Regions from separate parts of the Homo sapiens genome. Here region 1 is linked to region 2. Evidence: promoter capture Hi-C in human tissues and cell types (Jung and others, 2019). All regions are on one chromosome and are shown on one strand. The core of a region is centred on a gene start or on the middle of the fragment in contact, and the rest is flanking DNA. Distances in the headings are between cores, read along the strand shown.

Region 1 (3,312 bases), core at 326-2,825, 400 kb before region 2:
AAACTTCGGACTATAAAATAATGTATCAACATTATCTTATCAATTGTATCAAAAGGACCACACTAATTAAAATAATAATGAGGAAATTGTGTGTGTGTGTGTGTGTGTGTGTGTGTGTGTATGTGAGAGAGAGAGAGAAAGAGAAAGAGGTGGGGAAAGGGGGGTGTATAATAACTCTCTATACTTTCTACTTAATTTTCTGTAAACCTAAAACTGATTTTAAAAAATAAACTCTATTTTAAAAAAATTCAAATAAATGATTTGAATAGACCTTTCTGAATTTCTGAAAGAAAGATAAACAGCCAATATGGATATGAAGAAAAGCTCAACATCTAACATCTTTAGACATTAGGGAAATGTAAATCAAAATCAAATGAGATACGACTTTCATACCCAATAAAATGACTATAATAAAAAAGACAATGACAAGTAATGATGGGATGTGGAGAAATAACTGAAATCCTCATATGTTGCCAGTGAGAATATAAGATGATGCAGTCATTTTGGAAATAGTTTGGTAGTTTATCAAACTGTGAAATATGTAATTACCATATGACTCAGCAATTCTTAGGCACATACCCAAAACAAACGAAAACATTTCCACATGAAAATGTATACACACTCGGCTGGGCGTGGTGGCTCACGCCTGCAATCCCAGCACTTTGGGAGGCCGAAGCGGGTGAATCACGAGGTCAGGAGATCGAGACCATCCTGGCTAACATGGTGAAACTCTGTCTCTACTAAAAAAATACAAACAAATTAGCCGGATGTGGTGATGGGCGCCTGTAGTCCCAGCTACTCGGGAGGCTGAGGCAGGAGAATGGCGTGAATCCGGGAGGCGGAGCTTGCAGTGAGCAGAGATCACTCTAGTGTGCACTCCAACCTGAGCGACAAAGCGAGACTCTGTCTCAAAAAAAGAAAAGAAAAGAAAAGAAAATGTATACACACTCAGCTGCATTATTCATATTGGCCCCAAAGTGGAAATAATCCAATTATTCATCAACTGATGAATGGATACACAAATGTGGCAGATCCATTCAATGGAATATATTCGGCCATGAGCAATGAAGTAGTACTAACATATGGCACGACATGGATGAACCTTGAAAACTTTATTAGACTAGGTGAGAAAAGCCAGACACAAAGACCATAGAGTATATAATTCCATTTACTTAAAATGTCCAACATAGGGAGATCCATAGACATAGAGAGTAGATTAGTGGTTGCCTAGGGCTGGACTGAGAGATAAGGTGTGGAGTAATTGCTAATGAGTACATAGACACAGGGTTGCTTTTTGAGGGGTCATGAAATATTCTAAAATTACGCTATAGAGATAGATGTACAACTCTGAATATACTAAAACCCACTGAATTATACACTGAATTAAAACTTTAAAAAGTCGTTTGCATTTATTTAGTGCATTACATATTAGATTTTGCACTCTTATTTATGTTTTTCCATTTGAGCCTCTCAATAAAATTTGATATTAATTTTTTTTTTTTTTTTGAGACGGAGTCTCCCTCTGTCGCCCAGGCTGGGGTGCAGTAACACCATCTCCGCTCAATGCAAGCTCCACCTCCAGGGTTCATGCCATTCTCCTGCCTCAGCCTCCTGAGTAGCTGGGACTACAGGTGCCCACCACCACGCCCGCTAATTTTTTTTTAGTAGAGATCGGGTTTCACCGTGTTAGCCAGGATGGTCTCGATCTCTTGACCTTGTGATCTGCCCGCCTCGGCCTCCCAAAGTGCTGGGATTACAAGCGTGAGCCACAGCGCCCGGCCTACACGTGGCTTATTCTTGTCCTAACCGTTGGCTCCAATTGGCGGCCAAGCTAGAGTGCAAATATATGAACCTTTTCCCCTACTCTGAGTTCTCATGTTCTCCCCTTGGGGTCCCTGCACAGTACAGAAACAGACTGTGGCATGGGGATTCTTAGAGATTCTGTTCAATTTGTCCAAATACTTTAGTTACAGTTGTATGGACTATATGATGGTTCAATCATGTTGCAATAAGTTTTGACACAGTATGATGCTTATTGGATTTGGAGGGAACATGTTGATAACCCACTTTGCTCTTATTTGCAAGGACTTAGGAAGGTATTCATGTAGGTCAGTGATCTCAATACTTCAAGAAACCCTGGGGAACCACAGAGGCATATCCTGAGATTATTACAAAATGTTGCCCTTTCTGAGCCATCATTTTAATTTTCACTTTTAGTCTTGACAAAGTGTATAGACTCAGGAGCCAGGGAGATCGAGGTCAGAATGATAAGTCATTAATAGCTTGGCAATCTTACATATGAATTAAAGCTTCTAAAGTACAATGTTCTTTTTTTTTTTTTTTTTTTTTTTGAGACAGAGTCTTACTCTGTCACCCAGGCTAGAGTGCAGTGGTGTGATCTCCGCTCACTGCAAGCTCCGCCTCCCAGGTTCACGTCATTCTCCTGCCTCAGCCTCCTGAGTAGCTGGGACTACAGATGCCCACCACCAAGCCTGGCTAATCTTTTGTATTTTCAGTAGAGACAGGGTTTCACCATGTTAGCCGGGATTATCTCCATCTCCTGATCTCCTGACCTTGTCATCCGCCTGCCTCAGCCTCCCAAAGTGCTGGGATTACAAGTGTGAGCCACCGAGCCCGGCCCTACAATTTTCTTACAACAAAAATGGGATGATAAAAATTTTACCTTTTAACAAAAACACCTAGGACACACAATGCAGAAAAAACAGTCTCTTTGATAAATGGTGTTGGAAAAACTGGATGTCCATATGCAGAAGAATGAAATTAAATCCTTATTCCATACCATATACAAGTATCAACTCAAAATGGCTTAAATACTGAAATGTAAGGCCCCAAACTATGATGCTACTAGAAAAAAATAGGGGAAAAGCTCCATGGAGTTGCTCTGGGCAATAACTTATGGATATGACCCCAAAAGTGCAGGCAGCAAAAGCAAAAATAAACAAATAGCATTACATCAAAATGAAGAACTGCACAGCAAAAAAAAAAAAAGAAAACCAAGAGAGTGAAGAGAAAATGTAGAGAGTGGGAGAAAATATTTGCAAACTGTGTATCTAATAAGTGGTTGATATGCAAAATATATAAGGAACTCAATCAACTCAACAGTAAGAAGACAAATGACCTGATTAAAAAACAGGCAAAGTACAATTAGTAGATGCCAATGAAAAATAAAAGCAAAAATATGGGCAAAGGACCTAAACAGACATTTCATAAAAGAAGACATACAAATGGCCAACAGGCATATGAAACTATATTCAACATCACTAATGAGGAAAATGCAAATCAAAACCTCAG
Region 2 (2,993 bases), core at 75-2,574:
GAGAATTCATGAAAGGTTTTAAAATGTCTTACAAATGTAAGATTATTTGAAGCTGTATCAGCTTGTAATTTAAGGCCTGCAGCTGCTGGTATGATAGAAGTATCAAATTTCAAAAGAAATTATGGTAGAGTATAAATAAGCAGAATGAAGAGAAAAGTCTCCTGAGAAGAAAATAAAATGAGAATGAAGCATATGCATTGTTATTGCATTGCTCCTTTTTTTCTTCATTTTTTATTTCAGGTTCGAGGGGTACATGTGCAGGTTTGTTACACAGATAAATTGCATATCACCAGGATTTGATGTACAAATAATTTCATCGCCCAGGTAGTAAGCCCAGTACCCGATAGACAGTTTTCCGAACCCCACCTTTCTCCCTCCCTCCTTCCTCAAGCAGGCCCCAGTATCTGATTGTTCCCATCTCTGTGTGCATGTATACTAAGGCACTGCTTCTTATATTCAAGGTTTAGTACTAAAATGCAAATATGAAGTATATAATTTAGTAAGTTTTAATCCTGCTGCAAACCAGGTCACATAAAAATAATGCAAAATAAAATATTAAAATTATTCAGAAGTTCGATATTTATTCTGTTGTCTTTACACCTTATAAAATGGAATGACCTAATTACTCTTAAATAAACATAAAGACAATTTAAGGTCACATTTGTTACATTCACATAATTTGTTAAACACAATAGAAATGTTAGTTTACTAGAAAAGAACTGTCATAATTTTAACATGCAGAGTTTGTTTACCTTCTATTATGGTGATCTTTGTTTAAGATTTTCTCCTCAGATGTTAAAAGTTTTTCACTTAAAGAGGCTTAGGGAAAGTGATTTTTAAAGAGTCACTGTTACATGGTAATATGCCGTTCATTTGGATGAGACTAGTATATAGGTAATAGTCACAAGTTCTAACTTGCATGTTAATTTGAAGAGATTTTTCGTAAAATTTTATCAACATTAGTTTCTAATGGAAACCAGTCTTAGAAGTTTTCTGCTGTTTGTTTGAGGTAAAGTTTTTTTAAGAAAGTTATAATTACATTAAACTATCATGCTTTAGGGTTTAAATGTTGGAAAGTTGGTTTTGTAAGAAGAAGAGTTTGGTTTCTTGTTTGTTTGTTTGTTTTGGTTTGTTTTTGGCATGCGAAGAGCTGTGTCCTGGAATTGGTGCCCAAAAAATTTTAAGTGTGGTATGAACTGTTTATGTCACTGAGTAAAATTAGACACGTCTGTTGCTAATGTGAGGGGATGAAACATGAGACAGGGCGAAACTCGTGAGAGCCCTTTCTCCAGGGACAGTTGCTGAAGCTTCATCCTTTGCTCTCATTCTGTAAGTCATAGAAAAGTTTGAAACATTCTGTCTGTGGTAGAGCTCGGGCCAGCTGTAGTTCATTCGCCAGTGTGCTTTTCTTAATATCTAAGGTAAGTGCTCAGTTTTAACTTAGATTTTATATCAGTACAAAGTACTACCTAAAAACCAAACGCTTAAGAGGTTTCTTAATATTCTTTCTTCTTTGGTGGCATAATAATAAATTTAAAATAATGTTGAATAAATTGGTGTATCACAACATAATGACATATCAAGTATCAATGAAATTCTCATTTCAACTAAGTTATTCTGACTACAAATATGCTACATATTTTTAGCATAATCCTATATTTCTAACATTTTTAATTTGTAGAATGCCAAAGGTAGCATTTCTGTATTATTGGGCATTGAATTGGATCCTGTAGTTAATTTAAACAAAGTATTATCTTTAAGATCACCTACTTCTAATTCTGCTCTTAAACTTTAGTGGTAGAATTACATTTGCTTTAGATTTTCTTGATAGTTTTGTTATAGACACTAAGAAATAAACTAAAATGAATGACAACAAAAGTCCAGTGGTTTTATAAGTTGGAAATAAACAAAACAAGAGCAAAATAGCAACCTGACTCCTTCACTATTTTTGGAGTGAAAAGGGAAGAATGTTTCTTTCCCTAAATCTGGAAAATATAAAATACTGCTCAAAATATGTATGAAAAAATAAACATAAGTGGGGTAAAAGTACACATGTGCTAATGCTTCAGCTTACTGAAGTTATGAGTTCTTTCTTTGCGTTTTCTAAATTAATACATGACAACTAGCAAACACAATTTTTTTAAAGGAAGGATTAGAAAAAAATAATACGGAAAAATATAACTCAGCTGACTGAAAGATTTGCCAGCAGACCAGTACAAAAACGAACTACGGAATACACCGTTTGTTTTTTGCTTATTTTCTTGCAAACATTTTGTAGGTACAAAAAGGCACCTTTGTGGAATTTAAAAAGTAATGCTACAAGTTGGGGTTCGTTTTATAGGTTCTAGGATTCATTTCAGATTGTCTTTCAAAGACAAATGAAAAGTAGCATTTCAATGTAGTTAGATATAGCATTCCAAAGACTAACAAATTCAGGTGTCCAAAAGATATCAGCTAAGCTTGCAGTTAAAATGCGGAAAATGAAATTGTTCCATATTGTCCTTTAAAAAATGTACTTGCTAGTCATTAAACTAAGTTGTTATTAAATTGCATTAAAAATTAAATGATAGTTGTAAATTATAGTGGGTTCCCAATGTGTTCAGTTTTGCATAACTTATAGGGCCTGAGGATCTCCCTCCACTCCCTAATCTGTGGCTCATCACAGCGCTTGTGTCTTCTCAGCTTGAGGCACCAGGGCTGTGGTTTCCCAGTGGGAGGGGAGAAACTACAGCGTCCTGAGGATGACTCTGCTACTCTCCTGCTCCTTCAGAACCCACCTTGACCTTCATGACACCTTCCTGTCTCTCCCTCCCTCCCTCCCCTTCTCTCAGCCTCTATAGCACCTGTCTGGCTTTATTCTTCTCCAGACCTACTGCAGGGCCAGATAGTTCTACGACGTTCTCATGAGGATTGCAGGATCCATCACTTGCTACTTTGGCCATTTTGGATTCCAGCTTCATTTTTAATTTTATATGTTATGCTGTAGATAGTTT

Evidence for each region. Contacts are between HindIII fragments. The study calls those that stand out against the background at their distance.
Region 1: a fragment that was not itself captured here is called in contact with the fragment with the promoter of SGCG in region 2 in 1 of the 25 tissues and cell types used here (mesendoderm cells).

What each region holds. Positions count from the first base shown.
Region 1 is chr13:22,780,933-22,784,244 of GRCh38, forward strand. No RefSeq gene overlaps it. Among named protein-coding and RNA genes, the nearest start is that of LINC00621, 130 kb to the right of the region's middle. The HindIII fragment of the contact is 5,837 bases long and covers 1-3,312 here.
Region 2 is chr13:23,179,655-23,182,647 of GRCh38, forward strand. It overlaps SGCG (sarcoglycan gamma), which reads left to right and starts at 1,325. Exons shown (of 8, transcript NM_000231.3): 1 at 1,325-1,421. The HindIII fragment of the contact is 3,028 bases long and covers 1-1,883 here.